Regions from separate parts of the Homo sapiens genome. Here regions 1, 2, 4 and 5 are each linked to region 3. Evidence: promoter capture Hi-C in 16 types of primary human blood cells and fetal thymus (Javierre and others, 2016). All regions are on one chromosome and are shown on one strand. Each heading gives the region's core, a stretch centred on a gene start or on the middle of the fragment in contact. The rest is flanking DNA. Distances are from core to core; before and after follow the strand shown.

Region 1 (5,400 bases), core at 987-3,486, 300 kb before region 3:
AACGTCTGAAGTACAAAGACTGACTCAGGCACATACAAGCCATCTCCACGGAAGATTCTTTTTACCTAATTAGCCTGTTAAAAATACAACTTGAAATTCTGTAAAAGGGATAAATATGTGTTTATATTTTCAGCAGTTTCCTAAGTAAAAGGACCAATATCTCTTTCCAAAAACTTCCAGAGACATGTTTATTTTCCAGGGAAAATAAAATGAAATTTCTTTTCTAACAACAGTAAGAAAAATGAATTCTAGTTTTCATACAAAGCATTTTAAAACCAACTGCTGCTCTTACTGTGTAACAAACACAGGTGAACATTACTGGTTTTCAACTGTGAGAAAAATTCCTTCTAAGCCCATTTAAATTAATCTTAAATTAACATTACTGGGCATATCACTGGTTTTCTAGGAAAATCAAGCACATTTTAGTTAATCTTAAATTAACATCACTGGGCATATTACTGATTTTCTACGATAAGTGCTATCATTTTTCTAATAATCTCAATGTTTTTCTTCAATTATGGAATTTCTAAGGGACAGGGTTTGAAACTTGTTTGCTAGGATAATATACTGAACAAATCAATGACTGACACGTTACCTACCTACTTTAAAAAAAATTTAGATTCAACAATATTGCACCTGATCCCCTTTGATATACAAGTGGAAAGGAACACAAATTTCTCTCAAAAACATTCATAAAGTTGACCAGTGACAACATACCTTCTAGTATGTAAAACTAGCAGGAGCTAGTTTTAACTCACTAGTATTTGTACTCACTTGAATCAAGATAAGAAAACTTTCTTGGGCTCACACACCATAGTCGCAGATATTTTTGGTAAAGGGGAAAAATGTGAAGTAGGTTTATGCTGAAGTCCTTGTCATTCAATGTCTTTAGCATTCTATATTAAGAGATTTTAAAAATGACTTCATGTTTTCCCTATTATAAAAAATGTTAGATTTAACTCTTTTGGGCCCATGGACAGTCTGGAAATGTGAATTAATTTAATTGTATATTCTTCTCTCATGTTAACTAGCAATAAATACCCCAATAGAACAGAAATGCAGCTGTATACAGTCACATCGGTTTCTGTTCTTTTATTAACTGAAAATGTTTGTTTTAAAAATAAGTCTTATAAGTATTTACAATGTAATTTTACTTACTTGCTACTCTATTTCTAAAAAAAAAAAAAAAAAAAAAAAAAAAACCTCATTGGTAGGCAGGTGCCAAAACCATGGCTAAACCAATTTTCAGTATGATTAATTCTATTAGAAGAGGAGACTTGCTAAAACGTATCTGAAAGTTTTAATTTTAAATTCTTAAACAAAAGTTGACAAAAATTTGCTTGACTAACCACATCAATTAGTATTCATGAAATTGTTACTCTGACCACACATGCAAAAGATTTGTAAGAGTGGCCTTGTGCTTTTCCCAGTTACGTTTTCTTTCCAATGTAGTATATATATGTATTTTTACATATCCAAATACACATTGGATCCAATGTAGTATATTTTAATGTAAATGGGTAGTCAGGATAAATTCAGTTTGGCCCTTTGCTATGGAGACTAATTTACATGTCCTTGGATGATACAAAGGAGAAAATGTGCTTTTGGGGGACAGATAGACCTGGGTTCAAATTCTGACCTCAGTACTTACAAAATAGGTGAGGTTGAACCTCATTTTCCTTATTTATAAAATGAGCTAGTAACAGCTAAATGACAGTGGTTGTGAAAATTAAATCAGATAAACAAAGTTCCCAGCACAGTTCCTCCCACAGAATAGCCCTTACAATCAAATTAGTTTCTTTTTTTTCCCAGATTCCATTCAAAGAAGCTTAATATTCAAAATGTGCGTCTAGCTTGAATTTTAAAACTTGGATTTCTGTGTTGTTTCTCAGAAGATTAAAATAATTTCCTCATACAATGAAAAGGCCATCATGTCTGTTTGTGTGGCAATTTTTATACCTGGAATACTCTGTAGCATCTTTAGTCCCAAAACTAAGAAAAATGGAGACTGGTCAGAAAAATGGAGTAAGGCACTCCAGAATCTTAAAAGTAAAAAAAAAAAAAAAAAAAAAAAAAAAAAAAAAAAATGGCAGTCCTTTTTTTCCCCCAAAACTTTTCTTTCCTTTGCTCTCAAGACTTTTTTCTCACTTTCTGTGTAAAGGACAAAATTTACTCAAATTAATGAGAAAACTGAATGCAGGCAGAGTTCTTTATAAAGAAGGAACCTCAGAAACCCACTGTTCTCTACTATTTTTTATATTTCAAAACAGTATAAGGTGCAAAATAGTTTTAGTTTTCATACTTACTATAAACCCACATTAATACCTTACAACATGATAAAGAATACAGCTACACAAAAATTACATATAATACAAAACATTAACCCCTTCTCTTTTTAAGCAGTAGGAAAAACTGCATTAACATTTTTGGCTTTTCTTTTCTACACCTACATGCCCAAGTCTGTTACATATCCAAGAATAAAATACTGGCCATACAATTTTAGGTAATAAAATATAAAAAAGTTCTTTGGTCTCTTCCTAGAGTTTGTTCAGTTTTATTAAAAGATCTGAAATACCCTTAAATATATGCAATCAACTCGAAAACTAAAAAAAAAAAAACTGGAAAAAAGGGAAAGAAAGCTTTCTGTTTAAGAGCAGGACCACTTAGGGTTTGTCACTCTCTCATAAAACCTGAAATGGGATGTTAAAAATGAATCAATGTGAACTTATTATTAGTATTTCAAAATATTATTTTGTTCTATCATTTTAAAATAAATCTATAAAATGAGATTAAATAGTTTAAATTTAACCTGTTCATGACAAGAAGTATATTAAACTTCTATAACTTAAGTGAAGACATATATTTCACTTAAGAGTCTAGAAATGTTAATGAAAGTGCTAGTTTTTATTTTAAGGCATTGACAAGCAGACATTTCCCAATATACACTAAAATAATACATTTATATAATCTTGAGACAATGTAATTACATACCACGATTTTCTTATTGAAGAAAACTGAAGTCATCACAAAATAATAATGTTGCCAATGACTTCTAATAACTACTAGAGAATAATTTTAAAAACTAGAGGTGGGTAAAAATAAAATACATACAAGTCTAGGGTCTTATGATTTGGAGGACTAAGCCAACATATCATCTCTTTATTTATATATTTTTCCAGAACATAAAAGTCACCTTTGACCTATATTAGGCACAGACTATCAATTTTTCCAGGCTCTCTACCATACCAGCTATGCCATCTACCATAAGCCTGGAAATACCACTATCAAAGCTCCCCCTACCCCCCTCCCAATGTAGAACAAAGAGAAATGTAATACAGTAACCTGTGCTTTCCAAAGAATAAAATCTAAACTCATTTTGAGTTAGTCTGGTTCAGGGTCCTACATAATTAATTTTACTGAACTTATACACGTGCACACACACACACACACACACACACACACCCCACACACATACCCACATACCATGTTCAGACTGTTTTACTTAAAATCAGACACAAAAGAAAATTATTTTCACATTTGAAAGACAGCTGGCAAGAAAATTATATAGAGATTAAATAATTTCACTCATCCATCTAAATCTACTTCTTACATTATCCAAAGCTCTGCTTATATGGGCAGCTTGAACATACACTTTTTAATGAGTTTAAAGATATTTTGACTTGCTTATCTTTTTTGAAAGCTTACCCAAAAGTTCACAACCAAACACTGGCCCAGTCCAAAGAGCCCTTACTAAAGCAATCAGTGAATGAAAAAGTGCTTTTATTAGTTCTTAGTATCCTAGTTGTAGCCATAGGCTACTTTAAAACATTTCCAAGTGATGAAAAGGGAAGAGACAACCATATCTAATTTTAAGCCCATTTTAGTAAAATGTAATTGAATATTCTCTATAACTTAAAACATTAACATTAAAAATGCTCCCCTCTCCCCCCCTTCACTAAGCCCATATATGCATTTTTTCATAAGACACCTGAGGGTAAAATTATTTGTGAAAGATTTAGAAGGAAAACACTGAGTTTCTGACATAAACCAACACTGTTATTCATTAGTGTACCTTTTAATAATATTTATCAAGTATCTTACAAAGATAGCTCCTATTGAAACTTTCCGAGTTTACTCTTTTTTTTTTAGAATATATAAAATCCTCTGGCTTATAGATTTTTTTGTAGAAACACAGTAAATTATTAACATTAGGTAATTAATTTAAAGAATAGAACTCTTGTTTAGCAAAACAAAAAAGTATTATTTTAAAACACCTAGTCATGTGCTTGCTATAAATCAACCAGAAGTACAGTGCATTCTTTGGAAAATGTATAAATGCATTCTTTTAAAAAATAGTGATTTATTTCATGAATCCACACAAGGTCAAAATTCTAGTTTGATTGGAAACAGATGGTATCCCAGAGAAGTCAGGCTCTGGACCTGAAACTCTAAACAGGAAATACGGCCCTTACTAGCTGACTGCTTCCCTAATCATTACCAGAGCTTCATACTTGTTATTTTTATGAATATCCTAGATGACTTTCATCTTTTCCTTCCATCTACAAAGCATCAAATAATTCTCAATACATATGTGTGTATATACATATTTTATGTAAGGATTTGTTCACAATATACGAAAACATAAAAACAAATGTACTTTCAAGCTCATTGCTAGTAAAGATATCAGGCTAATAACAACTCAGAAACTCAAGTTTATTTTCTACACTATCTTAAAAATAAAATGAAAGCCAACAACTATTGAGTAGCTATGTAGCAGACAGGACTTTACTGACACTACTTCTAAAGAAATCTACAATCTAGGCTGGGCGCGGTGGCTCATGCCTGTAATTCCAGCATTTTGGGAGGCCGAGGCGGGTGGATCACCTGAGGTCAGGAGTTCGAGACCAGCCTGGCCAACATGATAAAACCGCGTCTCTACTAAAAATACAAAAATTAGCTGGGCATGGTGGCGGGTGCCTGTAATCCCAGCTACTCGGGAGGCTGAGGCGGGAGAATCGCTTGAACCCGGGAGGCGAAGGTTGCAGTGAGCCGAGATCGAGCCACTGCACTCCATCCTGGGTGACAGGGCAAGACTCCGTCCCCCCGCAAAAAAAAAAAAAAAAAAGAAATCTACAATCTAATACATTGCATAAAAGGATAAAACAAAACCTCACAGATTTTAGTAAAAAGCGAGTAATGTATACTGCTTTCCTTTAAACAAGTGAGTTAGAAGCTATACAAAGAAAAAGGCTTACCGTTTTCCCATTGTAGTAATACATCAAAGAATTGCTGCCCATTCCAGGGACAGGATAAGCACAATACATGTTGATTTTGAAAATGTTACTATTTGTAGCTAATGCACACAGCCTCTCTCCAAGACATATATCCACACAGGCAAAG
Region 2 (5,623 bases), core at 1,118-3,617, 310 kb after region 3:
TGCACTTTAAAAAATGTGCCATTTCATCTGAGTCTCTCTGGTTTCTGGTGATAAATCAGTAGTCATGTGAATCAATGTTCTTTTCTATGATAAGGCATTGTTTTTCTTTGGCTACCTTCAAATTTTTTCTTTGTCTTTAGTTTTCAGCAATTTGATTATGGTGTTATCAAAGTCAAATAAAATGATAGAGATGAAACTCTAAAGAAAATGTTTTATTTGGAAAAACGGAATTACCATTCAGGGCATGTACACAGACCAGGGTGGTCTTTGGTATCTTCAAAGAGCAGAGAAAAGGTTGGGGGTTTTATTAGAGAAATGTTATGTATTGTTTTGTAAGAAAACTCATTGGCATTAGGAAAGTTTTTGGGAGCTCATAAGCTCTGATTGGTGAGTAATGATGGGTAGGTAAAACTAGGCTTAAAGTCATGGCAGTTCATCTTAGCAGCTACTAGGTAAAAATAGTCTTAAGGTTGTAGCAGATCATTTTGGCAGTTGGCTTAGGAGACAGTCCCTGGGCAGGCACTTGTGCCCTGAGTGCTTTTCTTTTCTTTTCTTCCCCTGGTCTCCTGACTCTAATTTAATTGGGCATGATAACTCCAATTCATATAATCAATTCTCACAGTGTTTGGTTGTGGATTTGTTTGGGATTTTTCCTGTTTGAGATTCACTGAACTTCTTGAATCTGTAAGTTTATATCTTCTGCAAAATATGGGAGGAGTTTTTTGCTGTTATTTATCCTCCCCCTTTTTATTGTGGTAAAATATACAGAAAATAAAATTTACCACTTTGACATTTCTAGTGTATAATTCAGTGGCATTTAGTATATAAACAATGTTTTATGCAACCATCACCACTATTTTGAGAAATTTTTCATCATCCCAAACAGAAACTCTCTACCCATTGAGCGATAACTCCCCATTCCCCCTGCCCCTAGTACCTAGTAATTTCAATTCTATTAATCCTTTCTGTCTTTATGACTTTGTGTATTCTAGATACCTTATAAAATATGTGTTTGTCTTCACGTCTGAATTATTTCACTTAGCATAAGTTTTTCAACTTCATGTTGTAGCATGTATCAGAATTCATTCTTTTTTTGTGGTTGAGTGATATTCCATCGTACATATATATCAAATTTTGTGCATTCTGTTTGTCCATCTTTTGATGGACACTTTAGTTGTTTCCACCTGTTGGCTATTGGGAATAATGGTGCCAGGAATATTTGTGTACAAGTATCTGTTTGAGCCCCAGTTTTCCATTCTTTGGGGTATATATTGAGCAGTGGAATTATTGAGTCATATGGTAATTCTATATTTAACATTTTGAGGAGCTGCCAAACTTCCCATAGTGGCTGCACCATTTTAACTTCCCACCAGCAATTTACAAGGGTTCCGTCTTGGGTGCGCGATGACTGTCTGGGCTGGTGGCACAGAGGTAAAAGAATTTACCAAGATAGTTGTAGGTAAAGAAAGGCAGATTGGTTAAAGAAAGTATAAAAGTACGTTGCCAGGGAGCTATAGGTGGAATCAGCAGAAGAGTAGCTGACTGCAAGGAAACAAGGAAATAAGAACAAGAATGCTTCTTATGCTGAAGAGTGCTACAGGCAATACTGATAATGCTAAGGTTGCAGTGAGCTAACTTGCAGGTGTCTGATGATAGTTGGACCCAGGAGGGCAATGTGTAGTGGACCATGAAGAAAGGCAGACTTGAAGCTTATCTGCTTTCTCTTTTTGCTTTGCCTTGGTGTCCAGCCAGCCTGACTCCTTTTCCCTAATTATGAATCCACAGGTTCCAATTCCCACATCCTTGCCAACACATGTTAATTTCAGGAATTCTGGGAGTAGCCATTCTAGTGGATGTGAAATGATATTAGACATTATTCCTTTCTCCTCTTTGTCAGTCTCTGATAACACAAACATTAGACCTTTGGTACTGTCCCACAGGCTCCTTAGGTTCTTTACTTTTTTAAGAAATATTTTCTTTATTTTCGGATCAGGTAATTTCTATTAACCTATCTTCGAATTCACTGACTCATTTTTTTGTCATCTCCATTCTGCTATTAAGACTATCTAGTGAGATTTTTTTAAAAAAATTTAGTGATTACATATTTTTTTCAGTTCCCAAATTATCATTTGGTTCTTTATGTCTTCAGTTTCTTTGCTGAGACTTTATATCTTTTTATTCATTTTAAGAGTGTATGTCCTTACTTCCTGGAGCACCTTTATACTAATAATAGCTGCTTTAGCATTTTGGTCAGATAATTCTAACACCTGTGTCAAATCAGCATTGGTGTGTGTTGATCATCTTTTTCTCATGTGAGCTCAGATTCGCCTAGTTCTTCATATACTAAGTAGTTTTGGAATGTATCCTGGAAATTTCAAATATAATGTTAAGGGACTCTGGGTTTATTTAAATCCTATGGAGAATGTTGATATATTTGTTTTAGTAGGCAATTGACCTTATTGGGTTCTGGCTGCAAATTCCAACCAGCTTCTGTGGGTTGTGGTTTCAATGTCAGTTTCATTTTCAAAGCCTTCAGTTTTATTCAAATTTGTCACACATGTATGCTGCTCAGTGGCCATTCTGAAACCTGGCATGTGGTTTATCTCTTAGTTTAGTTCAGTCTTTGGTATGTTGGTTTATGATCAGAACCACACATGCATCCCTCAGAAGTGATACCAGAAATTCATAAACAACATTATCTGGTAATTTTCCAAAGATCCTCCCTTTAGGTATTTTCCCCAGTAACTTCCAGTCCCTTAAGCCTCTTTTTTGATCTTCCATCTGTAATACTGTGGCTTTATTTACCCCCCATCCTGCCCTACATTTTTCATGTCTGCACTCATATCCAGGGATAAGTGGAGGGAAGTTAGAATTTAAAAAGAAATGGTGTTCACCTCACTCTCTTGAGACTATAGCACCTCTGGAAAGTAACCCTCTCCCTCTCAGAATTTTGGTGCTCCTGTAGCTATCGGGAGATCTCTATCTTCTTCTTTGATCCTGAGTAGAAGGCTTCTCTGGAAGCTTTCTCTAGCTATACCAATACCTATCTCCACATTATAGATTGCCTTAAATCCACACTGAGAAATACTAAAGGGGGGTGAAAAGGGTCTATTCACTACCAGTTAGGTCTACTCCACTTCAAATTTCGTTGTTCTTTAGTCTTCATACTATTATCTTGTATTCACAGTCCTTCCACATTGTTATATGCATTCTGTCCAGGTTTTGTAGCCGCATTCAGTGGGAGAGTCAAAGTGGAGTGTGCTTACTCCACCTTACCCGGAACTGCAACTCTTAAAATAATTTTATAATTAACATCAATAGTAAGGGAGACTATGCATAAAACAAATAAACAAAACCTAACAAATTTGACATGTAAGCACTCTCACTGCCAGGCCAACATGTTGTTTAAAACTGTCCATAGAAATTGAATCTAAGTAGAGAAATTTCAGGTAGAAGCAAACTTTATAATTCCACCAAACCAAGAGCAAGTCAAGAATGCCTTCTATGATACTCTGGCTTCTTATTTTTAGGATGCAGAAAAGCTGCTCTGGCTAGCTTAAGAAAAATAGTTGCTCTGGCTAGTTTAAGAAAAATAACTTACTAATCAAGTATTATAAGAAGACACAAATACCTAAATCAGAAATGAAAGTGGGGACACAACTATTGACCTTTCAGAAGTAAAAAGGATTATAAGAGAATACTCTAAACAATTGTATGCCCAAAAAAAGATAACCTTGATGGCATGGACACATTTCTAGCAACAAATTACCAAAACCGACTCAAGAAGAAATAGAAAATCTGAATAGAGGTATAACAAGTAAAGAGAGTGAAACATTAACCAAAAACTTCCCAATGAAGGTAAGTCCAGGGTCAGATGGCTTCATCAGTGAATTATACCAAACATTTAAAGAAGAATTAGCACCAATCCTCAATTTTCCAAAAAGTAGAAGAGAACACTTACTAACTTGTTTTTGATGCCAGCGTTACCCTGATACCAAAATCAGATAAAGACCTCACAAGAAAAGGAAGTCACAGAGCAATATCCCTAAGTAATATAGATGTAAAAATTCTCAACAAAATATTAGCGAGCCAAATCCAACAACATATTAAAAGATTATATACCATGACCAAATAGGATTTATCCCAGGAATCCAAGGGTGTTTTGACATGAGAAAATAAGTGTAATATACCATATTAATGGAATGTAAAAACGCCACATGATCATCTCAGTTGATGCAGAAAAAATACTTGACAAAATCCAACACTTTTTCATGATAAAAACTTAGAAAACTCACTTTGGGAGGCTGAGGCGGGCAGATCACGTGTTCAGGAGATTGAGACCATCCTGGCTAACACGGTGAAACCCCTTCTCTACTAAAAATACAAAAAATTAGCCAGGCGTGGTGGCAGGCACCTGTAGTCCCAGCTACTCTGCAGGCTGAGGCAGGAGAATGGTGTAAACCCGGGAGGCAGAGCTTGCAGTGAGCCAAGAACGTGCCACTGCACTCCAAGAAAACTAGGAATGAGAGGGAACTTCCTCAACATGAGAAAGGGCAATTATGAAAAACTCGTAGCAGAAATCATACTCAGTGGTGCAAGACTAAAATCCTTTTCCCCAAGATCAGGAACAAGACAAACATGCCTGCTTTCACCACAGCTATTTGACATTGTATTGGAAGTTTTAGCCAAAACAGATAGATGGATGGATGGATAGATAGATAGATAGATAGATAGATAGATAGATAGATAGATAGATGAAAGATAAAATGGCATCCAGATTAAAAAGGAAAAAGTAAAACTATTCACAGATGATATGATCTTATATGTAGAAAATCCCAAATAATCCACAAGAAAGCTACTAGAGCTAATAAATTCCGTAATTTGTAAGATACAAGATCAACGTGCAAAAATCATTTGAGTTTCTGTATACCACCAATGAATAACCCAAAAAGGAAACCAAGAAAATAATTGATATGGTTTGGCTCTGTGTGCCCACCCAAATCTCATGTTGAATTGTAATGCCAAATGTTGGAGGTGGGGCCTGGTGGGAGGTGTTTGGATCATGGGGATGGTTTCTAATGGTTTAGCATCATTCCCGCAGTGCTGTCTCATGATAGAGTTCTCACAAGATCTGATTGTTTAAAAGTGTGTAGCACCTCCATCTGCTTGTGCTCTTCTTCCTGTTCCAGGCATGTAGGATGTTCGTCCTTCCCCTTCACCTTCCACCACCATTGTAAGTTTCCTGAGGCCTCCCTAGCCAAGCTTCTGTACAGCCTGTGAAACTGTGGTCAATTAAACCTCTTTTCTTTGTAAATTACCTATTCTCAGGTAGTTCTTTATAGCAACGTGAAAAGAGACTAATACAACAAACAATCTACTTACAATAGATCTGAGAATAAAATACCTGGGAATAAATTTAACCAAGAGGTGAAAGACCTGGACACTGAAAACTACAAAAAATTGCTGGCAGAAGTTAAAGAGGAACGAATTAAATGGTAAGACATACCGAGTCCATGGATTAGAAGACTTACTATTGTTAAGATGGCAATACCCAAAGCAGTCTACAGATTCAATGCTATCCCTGTCAAAACTCCAATAGCCTTTCTTTTCTCAGGAATGGAAA
Region 3 (5,600 bases), core at 183-2,682:
CCCCTCACCCTTTATTTAAAAGAAACAAACAAACAAACAAACAAAAACCTCAGCAGAACCCCAAGATGCCATGGAAAGCTCTCATACCGCACTGAAGTCCAGTAGGTCGCTCAGCTCCTTGTCGGTCCCTATAGCGGCCATGCGTTGTTGCTGGGGATTCATCTTCGGCCACTTCTAGCAGGTCCTAGGGCAGAGGAAACGGGCTCAGCGAGAGACCACCGAGGCCCAAAGTGTGTGAGGGAACAGAGAGAGGTACTGGGGAAGATTACGCAAGAGCGCTGGGGGCGCCGGGATGACTTCCAGGACCCCGACTCGCTCCCACCGCGGCGCGAGCAAGGGGCGGGAGGGCTCAGTGCCCGCGCCGGGTCCCGGAATCCACGCGTTCCTCGCCGCGGCCCGAGATCGACGCGGCGGCTCCCGCAACTCGCCGCCTCTCCCCCAAGTTTCCGAGCCAGTCTCTGCCACCTCCTCGGCGCCCCCTGCTCCGCGCCGCCGCCGGGTGCTCCGCGCGCCGGGCCCGGCCGCGGCTGGGGTCTCGAGGAGCGGGGTGAGGGGCAATTCGGCGTCCAGCGAGCGGAGCGGCGGCGAGCGGAGATGCGAAGTGACTCACTCGCTCGGCAACAATAGAACTGACAAGTTGCAGGGAACGCGCCGCTCGCAGGCCCGCGTCTGCGGCCGCCGCCGCCCGGACGTCCCCGGCGGGCCCAGGAGGTCGGAAAGCACCCCCAGCTCATCCAAGGGGCGTTTTTAAACAGAAAACAGAAACCCCGACAACTAGTCTCGCTCTCGGCCGGCGTCCTCCTCCCCAGGCTCGGCCTCCTCCCACTTTTGCTGCCCTGCCCCGGACCTGCCGAACAATGAGCCTGGCTCCGCGGCCGAAGCCGCCCGATCTCCCGCGCGCCCCGGAGCCTGGGCGCCGGCCCGAGTCGGGCACCGAACGGGGCGCACAGGCCGAGCGCGCCGCCAGCGGGCCTGAGCGCCCGCGACTCGAGCCTCCGCCCCCACTCCGCTCCCCAACTTGGAGGGGACCCCGGGTTTCGCGCTGTACAAAGGGGCGCGGAGTTGAGGCGGGGGACGGGGGCGCCCCCACTCCGGCAGGGACGCGGCGGCGCCCCGCAGCCCCCAGCCCCGCCGCGCCGCCCCACTCCCGCTCGCTAGCCCGCAATTACCTGCCGCCCCGTCTCCGCATCCAACCACCCCGATTAAAGTTCACTTTGGCCGGGAGAACGGGCTTGGGCTTCCCCTTGCACCGCCCAGCGGCTCGGTTCACTTTGCCCCGCACGAGCTCTCGGGTCTGGGAGGGGGAGGCGGCTTTCGGGCCTGGCCGCCCCTTCCTCCCGGGGCGGGCTGTCGGTCCCCCCGAATAGAACTTGTGGGTCTCTTCAGGCGGACATTTTTTTCGCTGAGGCGGCCTCACCACCGCGCTCGGCTCGCCTCCGGATCCCTCCGCGCCGGGAAGAGCCGCGGGTTAACCCTTCCCTCCCCGACCCGCTCCGCCGCCTAGGAAGTGGGGCCGGCAGAGGGGGCGGGGAGGAGCTGTCGGGGACTGGGAGGAGCCGCACCGCGGCGGGTGGACAAAGCCCGCGGTCGGGTGAGGCGGGACGGAGTTGGGGCCGGTGGGGAGGGGCATGAGGCGCTCGCAGGCACCTCGAGAAGCAGGCCCCGACCGCTCGCCGACGAAGCCTCGTCCGGGCCTCCTGGGAGCGGGGTGGCAGGTACCGTGGCGCCTCCTCGCGTTGGTCTTGCTGGTTCTCGGCCCCCGAAGCGGAGCGACGGAGACACAGCTGTGGAAGCATCTGGATCCGCTGCCCAGGTCCCCGAGCTTCCCGGAACCCGAGGCCGCAGGACACTGAAGGCTGCCATTCCCGAGTAGGTCACGCTGGACGCCACCCTAAGCTGGGCCCAGAGGCTCCCGTCCAGGAGGGCTGCAGTCGGCGCAGACACCGCGCGTGTGGAGACGGGAGACCCATCCTCCTCGGCCGTTCCGAGAGTAGGCGCGGCCGGTCAGATTCGATGCAGAGCCGAATGCGGGAGAAAGGGCAAAACGTACCTCAAACCAGACAAAGCCTTGTGAGCTTCAGGTTCTCAAATACCCCACTCACCCAGACCCCACATCTCCAGTCAGCCCCTCGCACCCAAATCCCATTCGGAGCAACCGAACTGCACGTGGGACTAGTTCTTGGGAATGGATCAAGCCAGTCTCTTCATCTAACGGAGACAGCCCTGGGTGGCTCTGTCACACAGCCACTGTCTTGTGCACAAGTTCTGAACTTGGCCTCAGAGAAGCCCCAGAGTAGAAAGAAGACAAAATAAGCCCCAGTTCTTCGATTCTGGGCTGAAGTGAGATTTTCTTGAATGGCAGCCATTGTTTTGCCTCTTAGGTAAGTGAGTGCAGTAAAGACCGGTAAGGCCCACGCAGAAGAAACACTGAGGAAAGAAGACACTTCCAAAGTAACAAATGGGAGGAAGCAGCCAACGCCCGAGGACAACATGGCAAGAAGGAGCCTTTGGATTCCGGACTGGGATGGAAAGAGAGGTAGATTCAGCTACCATATGCCATTACTGTAGTTAGTACAGTTGTCTCTATATCCGTGGGATTGGTTCCCAGACTCTGGATTTTCTAAGATGTTCAAGTCTCTTACATAAAAATGGTGTGTTTCCCCATATACTTTAAATCATATCTAGATTACTTATAAAACCTAATACAATGCAAATGCTATGTGAATAGTTGTTAAGGTGTATTTAGGAAATAATCATCCAAAGAAATCTCTATATTTTCAGTACATTTTCAGGCTATATTTTAGGCTCTATATTTTCATGTATTTTCAGGCCTGGTAAGCCTAACTACATTTTTTGTTTTCAGTTGATTGAATCCCGGAATTTGGAAACCCCAGATACGGAGGGCGGACGGTACAACCGGAGCTGTCAGGTGGATTTCCAAGGCTTTGCATTGGCTGTACCTGAAACTTATGGTGGCCTAGACTCCCCAGTATCCACTCTTCCTTATCTTGGTAAACAAGCCCAGTTCTGAGTCACATCCCTGCTCTGCCTACTTACAGGGGCATGTGGTCCCAATCTAAGCAACGTAGCATAATTCCAACCTAAATCAGCAGAATCCCATTCCCTGCCACAGTTATTGGCTGGCAATGAGCGTAACATATTTGGGCCAATGAGAGGAGCAATTTCCTGGTCTTTGTTGGGAAAAGTTTTTCTTTCATTTTCTGAGAGCGCTTCAGAGGTAACCCATTCTTTCTGCATGTCCTCAAAAAAACGGGTCCCCTGGATGGTGGGTAGCCATCTTCCAAATACAAGTCTAGCCGGGTTAAAATAAAGAAGACATCAAGAAAACAAACATGCATAGAGATCTGATCTTTGGTGACTTTTTTTTTTTTTTTTTTTGAGATGTAGTCTGGCTCTGTCACCAGGCTGGAGTGTGGTGGCAGGATCTCGGCTCACTGCAACCTCCGCCTCCCAGGTTCAAGCGATTCTCCTGCCTCAGCCTCCCAAATAGCAGGGATTACAGGTGCGCGCCACCATGCCCAACTAATTTTTTATTTTTTTAGTAGAGTCGTGGTTTCACCATGTTGGCCAGGCTGGTCTGGAATTCCTGACCTCAAGTGATCTGCCCTCCTCAGGCTCCCAAAGGGCTGGGATTACAGGCGTGAGCCACCGTGCCTGGCTTTGGTGACATTTTTGAGGCTCTGAATCAAGCAACTTCTGAATTCAGGTCTATCTTCACTGATTAGACCAATAGGATTCGAATTTTCTGTTGTCTGTAATCTAGTGTGGTCTACACAGTACCACCCCAATGACCATTTTTTTAGTAGCAAAGACATAAACGTCAGGTAGGAAGTCTGATTAGATCATTTTTAAGGCCCCATTCCCATGTGTTTTAGTTCATTTTCTCCTACTGCTAACAGAATACCATAGACTGAGTGATTTATAAAGAAGTTTATTTGGCTCATGGTTCTGGAGCCCGGTAAGTCCAAGAGCATGGCACTGGCATCTTTAGAGGGCCTTCTTGCCGTGTTATCCCGTGGCAAGTGAGCACACACAATAGAGAGTAATCCATTCATGAGGGCTCTACCCTCTTAGAAGTTTCTCTTAAAGGTCTCACTTCTCAACACTTTTGCATTGGGGGTTAAGTTGTCAACACATGAACTTTGGGAGACACATTGAAACCATAGCACTGTGATAAGATTCTATGACTCCACAGTAAAACTGGAAAGAAATCTTGCAGAAGGAGAAGGTATGTGATCCCACATGTTGGATTCATGCTGTTTTCAAGATTCTCTTCTCATCCTGCTCACACAACTAGTGCAGAGGAAGAATATCTGTCTGCCCAAACCTTCAGTCATAGGGGCTCCCTCATTACTTAGGGACTGATTGGTGAAGTTTTTCATATCTATTATGGCCCGTATAGTTTTACTTTATAATTTATTTTCCTTATTAGATTGTGAACCCCTTGAGGGTTCGGACTGACATGCATCTGTCAGTACCATGCACCTAACGTAGTGCCAAGAGCATAGTAGACCCAAAAAGGAGGAGCTGGAATTAAAGCTATCATTCATTTGACATTATAACATGAAGTTATTTTTCATAATATAGCCTTTGCTTGTGTCATTTTTAATAAGAGAAAATGATTCCCACCAGTGAATCTCCTATAATAGCTCTGACTTATATAGAAGACAAAAAGAATATAAAAAGTGGAGTTTTGTATCACTTATAACTCATTTCTGGGCCTTTGCTGACACATCTAGATAGGGCCAGAAGCCTTTATTGAAAAGCTCAGAGAGAAACAACTAAGTAATACAAATTCAGTGTTAATTAATAGTACTATTTGTGTAGTATAAGTTAATCCCTATCGATAAGTTAATATTGAAAAGTATTTAATGTGCATTTCTCACATGCCGGGCATGGTGTTAAATGTTTCAGGACAGAAAGTCTAAAACCCATACTGCCCTCAAGAAAGTTATAATCTAATAGATTTTTTTTTTTGAGACAGAGTCTCACTCTATTGCTCAGATTAAAGTGCTGTGGCACAATCTCAGCTCACTGCACGTTTGCCTCCTGGGATTAGGTGATCCTCCCACCTCAGCCTCTGAAATACCTGAGACTACAGGTGCATGCCACCACGCCTGGCTAATTTTTAAATTTTTCTTCATAGAGACAAGGTATCACTATATAGCCCAGGCTGGTCTCAAACTCCTGTGCTCAAGTGCTCCTCTCACCTCAAGCCTCCCAAAGTGCTGGGATTATAGGCATGAGCCACGATGCCCAGCAATCTAATAGAGCTTAGTTCACTGTCCATTCACTGTAATCCACTACTGGACAGACACAGGAATTCTGTCAACATGGTTTCAGCCTCCCCACACACACAACACACACACTTCATCCTTGAACACACATGCATATTTTATGGGACACCAGAGTTGCCCAGAGAAACCTTTATAGTCAAAAGGAAAAGTAGCTAAAGCAATGGGCTTTTTGCTTCCTTGGCAGATTGACTTAACCTTGGACCCTTTTTAGAAGACAAGTATTCTAGGAAGCTAAGAGGAGAAGGAGAGAGAGAAGAGAATCAAGTCAGGTGTTTAGCGGGG
Region 4 (5,691 bases), core at 1,123-3,622, 320 kb before region 3:
TCAGGATCTAGACACTGTATACTCTATTTTCAGGATCTAGACACTGTATACTCTATTTAAAAAGCTATTTTGGAAAAGTAAAGCTATGGAAAAGAGTTCAAAACACTTTGGGAGGATCTAGTAACAGAGAGGTAGTATAAGATCAATAATAGGCCGGGTGCGGTAGCTCACGCCTATAATCCCAGCACTTTGGGAGGCCGAGGCAGGTGGATCACCTGAGGTCAGGAGTTCGAGACCAGCCTGGCCAACATGCTGAAACCCCGTCTCTACTAGACATACAAAAATTAGTCGGGCGTGGTGGGCGACTGTAATCCCAGCTACTCGCGGGGTCTGAGGCAGGAGAATCGCTTGAATCTGGGAGGTGGAGGTTTCAGTGAGCCGAGATCGAGCCACTGCACTCCAGCTTGGGTGACAGAGTAAGACAGTGTATGAAAAAAAAAAAATCAATATTATTGGTTTTTAAGTTGTTACCTTTTAAAACATTCATTGGACACATGGGAAAATTAGCTTGGGAAAGTACATTTTTGTTCTTAGTGGCTTTGCACACATACATTGATTTATTTCAACCACATAAGTAAATTAGGGAAGGTCATCAAACTTCAACAGAAACAAAACATGTTTCAACATACCTTTTCCCTTTCTTTTTTTTTTTTTTTTTTTTTTGAGACAGGGTCTTGCTCTGTCACCCAGGCTGGAATGCAGTGGTGCAATCATGGCTCACTGCAGCCTCAACTTCCTGGGCTCAAGCAATCCTTCCACCTTGACTTCCCAAGGAGCTGGGACTACAAGCCCTCACCACCACACCCAACATTTTTGTATTTTTTGTAGAGATGGGGTTCCGCTATGTTGCCCAGGCTGGTCTTGAACTCCTAGGCTGAAGTGATCTGCCTGCTTTGGCCTCCCAAAGTGCTGGGATTACAGGCGTGAGCCATTGAACCCGGCCCTCAACATACCTCTTTACCACTGAAAACCACCATTTCTTATGTTCATAATTCAAATAATTATACCATTTATGAGCAATTGATGCTCATCTTTATGAAATATGTCTTGACTACAATATTGGCAAGGGAGGGAAAGGCTGATAACACTGATGGTGGATGGATGAGTGAGAAATCGTCAGTTCTATGCAAAACTGTCAACTAGCCCAACTCATGAAGCAGCATTTTCTGTTACATACTCCTTCTTTCGTATTCTTCATAGTGCTTACACTGTATTTCTAATCATCTACATTTGTCTGTTACCTGTTTTTTTATCCTTTCCCATGGTAAAATATAAGCCCCAGAAGAATGAGGAATTTGTCTTATTAATGTAGCCTCAGATTCCACAACAGTGCAGATAAATGGTGAGGGTTCAATGTACAGATATACAGTTGTCATTAAGAATGAAAAGCATAATCCTTGCCAGGAATTTCCATTTAAGTGATTCTTTTCAGTCTTTGTATTTGATAAAGTCCCTAGGGTCCATCTCTATTTTACTCTTCCATTTCCCTTAATGTAGGTTTCCCCAGAGTTCTAGTCTCAGTATTCTTTCATTTCCCTGTGCTTTATCTCTTGGTAATAGTATTCTTTGTCAAATATCAACTATCACATCCAGGTATGACTCCTAAATTGGTATCTCTCTTGTCACACTGGTTGCTAGACTTTTCTATCTGGACAGGATCTCTTTTCATCTCAAGCGCAGTTATGTCCAAACCCAAATTTTTTATCACCACCCCAAGCTTCCCATCCTTCCCATCTCTACTCTTCTATTTAGGTTAGTAGCACCATGCTTATGGTTACCATAAGTACTCTCTCCTCTTTTCCTCTGCCACTCTACCCTTCCCTCTGGAGACACCGATATCCACAATTCTCTAATGTTTCTGGGACAGGCACATGTCATAATCACTGCCATGACACCACTTTAAATCTTTACTCAAACTTGCGGCTGGACTACTTAAGTGTTTATATTTCTAGTTACTCCCCTCTCTTTCCATCCTATACATAATTGCCCTGAACTACTGTCCTCAAAAACTTTTTTTTTTTTTTTTTGAGATGGAGTCTTGCTCTGTTGCCCAGGCTGAAGTGCAGTGGCACGATCTCGGCTCACTGCAACCAGGTTTAAGTGATTCTACTGCCTCAGCCTCCCAAGCAGCTGGGATTACATAGGCGTGTACCACCATACCCGGCTAATTTTTCTTCCTCTTTGTTTTTTTGAGATGGACTTTCGCTCTTGTTGCCTAGGCTGGAGTGCAGTGGTGCAATCTCAGCTCACCACAACCTCTGCTTCCTGGGTTCAAGCGATTCTCCTGCCCCAGCCTCCCGACTAGCTGGGATTACAGGCATGCACCACCATGCCAGGCTAATTTTGTATTTTTAGTAGAGACGGGGTTTCTCCGTGTTGGTCAGGCTGGTCTCGAACTCCCGACCCAGGTGATCCCACTGCCTCAGCCTCCTAAAGTGCTGGGATTACAGGCGTGGTGTTGCCTAGCCCTTATAGTCTACTTTTAACCTACATACCCTATTATGCAAACAAAATATTTTTTTCATTTTCTAAACACAGCTTGTCCTCCTTTCAGAACGCTTGTTTCTTAACCTCTCCCAGATGGAATTCTACTTATCAAAGCTCAGTTCCAATGTCACTTCCCCATTTATACATTTTCACCTTCCTTATACTCTTAGAAAATAGTCTGAACTTCTCTCTGCTCTTTTACTTCACACTGTGTTATACATTATCATTATTTGTATATCTGTCTTCTCTCCTTGACTACAAGCTCTTTGAAGACAGGAAACTTATACTGGTCAACATTGAATCCATTATTGTATGCCAGTATCTTGTAAAAGTAGGTGCCCAATATATATATTTTTAACTTGAGTGATTAAACTACAATTGAAATTTGCTATAATACTAACTGATAAAAAGCAGGACTCAATAAATGGTAGTATTTATCTTGGTATTTATACAATGTGGGTCAGCAACAGAAATACCAAGGGCAAAAGAGCTTGTTATAAATATGACTTAATTTCAAATCAGTTTTATGGCATAAGCTTTGAGAATAATCATATGGTGAGGTTTCACTATTTCTGGGAATTAGTGTTGATGTACTAAGCTGTCCATATCACACTGTTAGGTAGGCATGGGCTTTTGAGGGTAGAAATGGACTACCAATCCCGATTTTCCCTGAAAACTCTGTCCTTACACTTAAACAATCCCTAACCATGTCAACAACTGGTGAAAGCTCCTTTATATCAAGGAAGGAAGAGGTAATAGTTTAGAGTCATATAAGAGCACTATCTTTAAATGACTTGGTGAAATGCCCCAATGCTATATGTAAAACTGGTGTAAACTTAAAAAAAAAAATCACTGTCTAAACGGGAGAAACAGCACCAAAAACATATCAAGTATAAAAATATATCATTTCTGGTATTTTTTCCAAAAGCAGCTTCTCCATTTGTACAATAAAAGCCAATTTTTCCACTCATCCATCACAGTCACTGGTTCTACTTTGCCAGTTAAAGTGATGACAGACAGAATTGTTATCAATACTTTTCCTAAATTTACAGATAGCCCTGTAAGTTACAGGACTTTTTAAAAAATCACTTTTACTTTCATAAAAAGAATGTGTATGGTGGGAGAGGAGGAGCAATACAACATTTGAAAAGCATGATAACACAGCCTTTTGGATCACAGGTCATTTCACTAAGCTTTATCTCTGAGTGTTTATTTTATTACCAAATCGCAAACAAATCATACTTATTCTATAAAAATTGTGCTACTTTAACTTCTAAACACAGGCTTTATTTGGCTTTATTCTAAATCAGGAATATGTTTCTTTTCATACTTTCTGGACTTAAAAGAACTCCTACATTGATGTTTGAAGGTAAGAATAAAAAGAAGAACAAAATCAGTTACTTAAAAAAATGGGGGTAAAGAGTGATTTAGAGTCTAGAGCATAAACAAAGTAAGCACTCATTCTGCATGCAGTCCATGGTCCTCATACTGTTAAATGACCAATAATGAATAACTCCCAATGCCTTCTGCCAGGCTTAAACGGTAATATGCCTCATTTTACTCCAACAAATGAGACTCCTCCTCCTATCAGTCATGGTCTATTCCAATCAGCAGGGTGCCAATAAGCCAGAGGCTAATGAAAAGGGCTTTAGACAAAAAAGAAACAATGGACTGCTCCCAAGCCCAACCCCGGAACTGTGAGCCCAATTTTTTAAACACTACAGTGCACATTTCAGTTAATCTTTATTATGCTAATGTTATTGAGTCTAAGGAACAAAGAAAGTTATTTCATGAATTACTTTTAAACATCAACTTCCCTGAATTTTCTTTTCTTTTGTTAGAGACTACTGACCATTTATCCAGATTAATACACACATACATATACACACACACACACACACACACACTCTCTCTCTCTCTTTTTCCCTTGCTCTGAGGTAGAAATCAAAACATAAATTATCACAAAGAAGTCTGATATAATCAACAAAGTTAAACAGTCTTCTTGTTTGATCTCCTCTAAATTAAAGACCAAGTGTTTTGATATGGTATTAGGCACCGAAAGAAACCAGATGTTTCTTCCTCTATATAACTCTCCACGGGCACAATCTTAAAGGGTTATTGTCTGGCAAATGTTCAGGGAAACACATTAGAAATGGCACGAATACCCAGATTTTCCTTTCCTTCTATCTACCCTAGGTTTTTTTTTTTTCTTTTTTTTTATCTAAACTAATGCATAATCCACAGGGCTTTGGGAACTTTGTGTAAATACTTTCATGTACAATTCTCTTTCTTGCTATCCTGAGATTAAGACCACAATTATGCAGGCTTAAACCTAAAATAAAGGAACCTTTGCAAATGCATTATCTGGCCTTACATGTTTAATCACACAGTATTCTGTGTGCTCTTTAATACCTAAACTGAAGAACAAAGGTTGTACCCTCTGATGTTTCACAATATGAAAGATCTTTTAAGACATATATTAGACAATTGGGGAAATAGAATTAATTTTTAATGACAATAGCATAGTGTTTCTCCATCTAAAACCAGAGGCTATATTAAAAGCGTCACATTCTAAAGAACTTAAAATTTCAAAAGAGTCAGTCACCATTTCAAAATATCTATAATACCTGACATAAAATTATGATATGCATGTCAGACTCTCAAAAGTAATCCTCATTAATTTCCTTCTCCTCATCTCTTCTAATCCTTCCTATCCCCAGATAATGTAATGTTTTTCTTTTTCAGTACGTTTTGAGTGCACTAAACATATATTAAAGTGAATGCGAGTCTGTAAGGAAAGTTGGAAAAAGAATGTATTTGGGGAGGTGTCCGGCTGGGAAGTGGGGAAGCAGATGGATTGAAGGAAGGGATTTGAAATGTGCAGACTATGGCATGCAGTGATGGAGCAGATGGAATGCATCACCGTCAGCTATGACAGAAATGATTTATGGAATGACCTGGCTGCTCCTGCCTAGTAACAACACAGGATGACAGAGCTGAGTTTCCATGACAACCAAAGCCCACCCACTAACTAGATTAAACATTTCTTCACTGGATTCCATTCACGGTGAATTTGGGTTTTCTTTTCCAAATGCCATTTTGGTTTGGCTAGTATGCTGTTTATAACAGGGGAAGATACTCAAGGATGTGAAGGGTAACAAAATGAACTTGAAGGGCCACTGAGAACATCACAAATTCTTGCCT
Region 5 (5,718 bases), core at 1,191-3,690, 280 kb after region 3:
ATCTTATGTATATTGAGAAAGTTGCTTATAGTATCCCTTATTGTCTTTGTAATCTTTGGAATCTGCAGTGATATCCCCTCTCATTCATGATATTGACAGTTTGTGTGCTTTTTCTATTCTTATTATATATTTTAATTTTAAACATGTTGTAAATACACAGAATGCAGTATTACAGTTTTTACTTTAGACAGTTTTTTTAGGGCAATTAAAAACTTTAAAATTAGCTTTATATTTACCTTTATTTTTACCATTTCCTATACTCTTCATTTCTTTATGTAGTCTTCATTTCTGTTTATCGCATTTACATTAAAAATTCTGGCCAGGGATATAATGGAGCAAATGTTTCCGGTTTATACAGGGGTATACAAGCCACTGTTTGCCCCTAAAATAATTATGCCTAATTTGTTCCTTGTTTAACTCATCATAATTTAACAGAAGAAAATGCTGCATTCTGTGAATTTAAATATGATCAACTTTTTTAGTATTGTACAAAGGATATATAGTTTAGGGGTAGGGGAATTCAGTGAGCAAACAGGATATTCTTGTCTGGTCTAAAAACGACATTAAAATCACATATAGTTACATTATGGGCATCAAGATAAATGCAGTTGAGACACTTTGCACACAAATTAAAGATGATTATCAAATATTAAAAGATATAATATCAAATGACAAAATACATTATGCTGAAATTGAAAGCATATTGGTATGAATAGATTACAAAGTGTTATGCAGATTATCTGTATGGATATTTTGAGCCAAGTGGAAGAAGCTAAAGCTTTACAGTCAGTAAACATGACTAATATAAAGCTACACACTTAATAAAAGGCCTATCCCTTTGCTTACAACAATTGAAGGTAATTTTGAAAGTGTATTTGATGAACATAAAACTTGAGCAAGAGATATGCATATTCTTCTCAAATTTTAAAATAAATGAAAAAAGTAAACAAATGAGAAATGCATGAGTCACTGGGTGAAGAGTATTGATAATTATGAGGGCAGTGCTTATTAAATAGAAATTAAGATTATAAATGCCCTAATTTCATATTTTGTATAGAGATATAAAAAATTCAGTGAAATGTTTTCAGATTTTGAATTTCTAAACTGGAGAAAAATTGTTTTGTATAAATACATCTGATTTACAAAGACGAGCCACTAAGTTTGCACTTAAATATTCTGACGATTTAAATTCTATAGAAATTCTATATGAAATAGTTTAAAGCAGCATTTGATATCAATAACATACAATCAAGTTTGTGTTTGGGTCTTCTAAACCTTCTTAACATATTTTGCTTAGTGCAGTCTTAAACAGATTTGGAAATGGTATTCAAAAATTTTAAACAATTCCAGCCACAGTGGAATCCTGCAAATGAAGCTTACTGTAAACTGAAGTTAATATAACATTTTTTTATGATTGTCACTTGTTCAAGAGAAATTGTACATGACAGTTTGCTCATTTGAAAACAAAATAAGAAAAGAATTAGATTTGAAAATGTACTGTTGATGCATTTGCTTCCATTAGCCAGGAGAATAAAATAATACTGTTTTTGGCATAAATAAAATCTTTAAGTTTAAGCTAATGTGAGTTTAATTCTCCTACTTTTAAATTTTTCAATATTTTTCTGACTAACATTCTAGAAAAAAAATTTTTTAAATACACAGAAACAGGCTGGGCACAATGGCACACACCTGTAATCCCATCACTTTGGAGACAGAGCTGGGAGGATTGCTTAAGTCTAGGAGTTAGAGACCAGCCTGGGAAACAAAGTGAGACCCTGTTGCTAAAAACAAAAAACAAAACAAAAACACACCACACACAAAGCAAAACTTATAGGGGCATTCATTTTTTCTTTTGCCTCAGGCTTCAATATGGCTTGGTATAGCACTGATTGCAGAATAGTTACATCAAAATTTTTGAGACTGTTATGCTGAGCCAGAAAGTACCCCATGATTTCTTTTCCTTTTCTGTACCTTATGTTATTTTTCTGGAGTTAAAAATATGTATCTTTTTTACTCGTTTGTTTAGTTTTCTGTGCACCTAATGCTGTATTTTTTTCTAACGTTGCAATTTCTCTCTCAAATATTTGGAAATAGTTTTTCCAGTGTTCACACACATAAAAAAAAAATCGCTGGGGAGTGAAGGGGTCTGAAGATCTCCTCCCAGACTCCCCGCCTCAACTTAAACTAGTTGCTCCCTAAGCCTGTGCTTAGTTTTGTTATGTCAAGATTATCCTTTGCCACTCCCTTGTATTGGATGTCCTGTTTGCTGAACCATGAATTATTCCTCATTTCTTGGCTTACTCATCATTTTGATGAATTGTGTCCTCTACTAGCTTCCTGAGAAGGTGTGCATCTTTTTTCAGTTTTTGCATATCTAAAAATATATTTATGCGAATGATAGTTTGGCTGAAGTACATAAAAATAATTCCCATGCAGTTTTTAAAATGTTGTTTTTACTATCTTCTTATATCCAGTATTTGTATTAAGTCTGATGCATGTCTTGCTCCAGTTTCTTGGTATTTAGGTTACTTTTTTTCTTTTTGGAAACTTTAGTGATTATCTCTGTCACTGGTGTTTTGAAATCGCATGATATGTTCACCCATCCTTTTTTCATTCATTGTATTAGGCATCTGACAAACCTTTGGAGTTTGGAGATTTCTGTTTGGGAGAAGTTTTCTTGTTTCATTTCTGTGGTAAATGCTCACTTTTATTTTCTGTGTTCTCCTTTTTTTAAGAAACTCCTATTGTTCTGACATTGTTCTGACACTGAGCCTCCTGCATCAACTCCTTTTTTTTTTTTAGCTCATTTAATTGTATGTTATTTTCTTTCTGGCCTTTCATCTTTTTGTTTTTTTGTTTCAATCTTTTTAAATAATTTTCTAAACTTAATTACTTATTTTAGTTGCCATATTTGTAATTTTGAAGAGCTCTGTAACTTTTTATTTGTTCTTTAATTCTCTTTTTTACAGTTTTTGTTACTGTTTAATGGATATAATAACATATACCTCTTTGGAGATATTAAATATTGTATATATACTTTTTTCTTTTGTTCCCAGCAATGTATCTGATGTCTCCAAGCCCCTTTCTTTATTCCTTTTTGTTTTTTTTGGTATTTTTCATGTTAAGGTATGTCTTTTGTTATGTGGTGATCCTTACCCGCCCATACATAATTAAAGAATGAGGCTAAAATAATCATTGAAAACCGTATGTGTTTGAATGGAGACAGGGCTGTCTTGCATAGCCATTCAGGTTGAACACTGCAGAACTCCTGCGGATACTATTTAAATATATCCTTTGTAGTCTCAAAAATTACTAATGTTTACCATATTAGAAATTGAAATAATGATATTTTAAAACTATTGTCAAAAATAAAAATAATAAATATATGTTAACATAAATCACATTTTTTTTCTGAAAAATAACTATTTTCCAAAGCAACAGAAATTTAGTGAGAAAGAATGGCTTGATTTTACACTTTTGCATATTTCTTTAATGTCAAGCTTAGTAGAAAAAAATTGGATTCTCATGTTTCTGAATCCAATCTGTTGTGATACATTCTTTTGGTTGAAATGTATGAAGAATACCCAGCCTCACCCAGTACTTCAATAATCTTTTCCAATAATTGTGATTATTCTCCTTTGATACTGCACCAAAAGTGGAAGTTTTCTTGCTTGTTGCACTGTGGAATCTAGCTCCGTATCACTGACTTTTTTTGCTTTGTTACATCAAAATCTGTTTGTCTGTTTTATATTTTGAATGGATCTTTTATCCATGCCTAATTTTGTAATATCATGCATTGGTCATTTGGAACTTATTGGCCCCTTAAGTGCCCTGGATCTTCCAAATGTTGAAATATTTCATTATATAATATCAAGCACTCACAGTAAATATTAGCATTAATCTAATCAGTGGTGGGTAGGAGTTTTTGCTTGATTTTATTACTGGAAACGAATACTGTCAGTTGTTTTCCTTGATATGACAGGCTCACTTTGTTAATTTTTCAAAAAGAAAAAGTCTACTGAAACTCTAGTCTAGATATTCATAGTTTGACAGTCATTCTTTAAAATAAAAATGATCCTGTTCTATGAAAAAAATGTGGTTAAGTACAACTCACAACTCAATCACAGACCCAAATATTTTCAGTAGGCAATGGTTGTGACTTATGCATACTTTCTTTGCATTTTGTCACACAAAATATTAAAAAGATATGAGCTCAAAGATTGAGATTTAATAAAGTTTTTTTTTTTAACTTGTCTCGGTGTGGTGTGAAGAATACAATGTGTATGGTGGTGAAGAATACAATGACTACTAGTACAGGTTGCTACTGCCTTGATTTATATTAATTTGCCACCATTTTTACACACTTCTGTTTTTATGCCAAGAGTTGTGACTTCAGATGCCTCCTGAAAGTGGCTTGGATTCTCCAGGTGTCCATATGTCATACTTTGGAAACGGATGATATGAATTACAATGTGTTGCCCTCTGGATTTGTGCACTGTACTGTGTGCACAATCTGCATGAAAATTGCGTAGACTTCAGTGTGGGAAAATTAGGTGCTGAACTGACTGATTCTTTGTTGAGGAGGATGGTCTCAACATCATTATGGAGAGGCCAGGTGTGGTGGCTCATGCCTGTAATCCCAACACTTTGGGAAGCTAATGCAGGAGGATCCCTTGAGGCTGGGAGTTTGAGACCAGCCTGGGCAACACTGGAGACTTCGTCTCTACAAAAAAAAAAAATGTTTTTAACTAGCCAGTCATGTTGAGCACATACTGTGTAGTCCTAGCTACTCAGGAGACTGAGGTGAGAGGATTGCTTGAGCTTAGGAGTTCGAGGTTGCAGTTGAGCTATGATCATGCCACTACGTTCCAGCCTTGGTGACAGAGTGAGATCTTGTCTCTTAAAAAAAAAAAAAAAAAATTCATTCTGGAAAATTTTTTCTTTGGGGTTGATCATTTTCTCCAGAGAGAAATCTAGCTTCTAGCTGAGAGTGCTAGGTTGGGGAGTGAGTTCTCTGGCTGTTGGCATTCTGGAAGCCAGGCAGGGAGAAGGATTGTTAAGTACGTGGACTTTTACTAAAACTTTGTTTTCTCAGTATCTCATGCCTGCCTTTTACTTTTCCTGGTGTTCATAAGTCTAGACTATCTCCACTTCAGAAAGTTAACTTTTAGGCTGGGCACGGTGGCTCACTCCTGTAATCCCAGCACTTTGGGAGGCCGAGGTGGGTGGATCATTTGAGGTCAGGAATTCACAACCAGGCTGACAAACATAGTGAAACCCCATCTCTACTAAAAATAAAAAAAATTAGTTGGGCATGGTGGAACATGCCTGTAATCCCAGCACTTTGGGAGGCCGAGGTGGGTGGATCACCTGAGGTCAGGAGTCTGAGACCAGCCTGGCTAACATGGTGAAACCCCGTCTGTACTAAAAATACAAAAATTAGTCGGGCATGGTGGTGGGTACCTGTAATCCCAGCTACTCAGGGGGCTGAGACAGGAGAATCGCTTGAACCTGAGAGGTGGAGGTTGTAGTGAGCTGAGATCATACCACTGCACTCCATCCTAGGTGACAGAGCTAGACTCTGTCAAAAAAAAAAAAAAAAAATAGGAAGGAAGGAAGTTAAGTTTTAGCCTCTTTGGTAAGGGAAGGGATAGGTGCCTGTTGTGTAAGTTGCGGGGAAGGAGCATTTAGATTTCCCAGCAATGCTTTGTTTTTACT

Evidence for each region. The method cuts DNA at HindIII sites, captures the fragments that hold promoters and counts their contacts. A CHiCAGO score of 5 or more calls a contact.
Region 1: a contact is called between a fragment that was not itself captured here and the fragment with the promoter of TCF12 in region 3, in 2 of 17 cell types (non-activated CD4 T cells and total CD4 T cells). The highest score is 7.6, in non-activated CD4 T cells.
Region 2: a fragment that was not itself captured here is called in contact with the fragment with the promoter of TCF12 in region 3 in 1 of 17 cell types (fetal thymus); the score reaches 5.5 in fetal thymus.
Region 4: a fragment that was not itself captured here is called in contact with the fragment with the promoter of TCF12 in region 3 in 2 of 17 cell types (activated CD4 T cells and non-activated CD4 T cells); the score reaches 5.6 in activated CD4 T cells.
Region 5: a fragment that was not itself captured here is called in contact with the fragment with the promoter of TCF12 in region 3 in 1 of 17 cell types (fetal thymus); the score reaches 5.6 in fetal thymus.

What each region holds. Positions count from the first base shown.
Region 1 is chr15:57,219,446-57,224,845 of GRCh38, reverse strand. The region is part of intron 8 of TCF12 (transcription factor 12); the gene reads right to left. Among named protein-coding and RNA genes, the nearest start is that of SNORD13D, 57 kb to the left of the region's middle. The HindIII fragment of the contact is 811 bases long and covers 1,831-2,641 here.
Region 2 is chr15:56,605,248-56,610,870 of GRCh38, reverse strand. LOC105370832 (a long non-coding RNA gene) reads left to right here and starts at 5,275. Exons shown (of 4, transcript XR_007064652.1): 1 at 5,275-5,495. The HindIII fragment of the contact is 1,312 bases long and covers 1,712-3,023 here.
Region 3 is chr15:56,914,476-56,920,075 of GRCh38, reverse strand. TCF12 (transcription factor 12) reads right to left here and starts at 1,432. Exons shown (of 21, transcript NM_207037.2): 1 at 1,170-1,432; 2 at 88-184. The coding sequence starts at 162. It overlaps TCF12-DT (TCF12 divergent transcript), which reads left to right and starts at 1,577. Exons shown (of 4, transcript NR_015419.2): 1 at 1,577-2,536; 2 at 2,864-3,011. RefSeq lists silencers at 393-832, 883-1,172, 1,263-1,312, 1,483-1,612, 2,133-2,272. The HindIII fragment of the contact is 11,533 bases long and covers 1-5,600 here.
Region 4 is chr15:57,235,852-57,241,542 of GRCh38, reverse strand. All of the region lies in intron 12 of TCF12 (transcription factor 12), which reads right to left. Among named protein-coding and RNA genes, the nearest start is that of SNORD13D, 40 kb to the left of the region's middle. The HindIII fragment of the contact is 1,306 bases long and covers 1,720-3,025 here.
Region 5 is chr15:56,636,372-56,642,089 of GRCh38, reverse strand. The region is part of intron 20 of ZNF280D (zinc finger protein 280D); the gene reads left to right. Among named protein-coding and RNA genes, the nearest start is that of ZNF280D, 94 kb to the left of the region's middle. The HindIII fragment of the contact is 2,125 bases long and covers 1,378-3,502 here.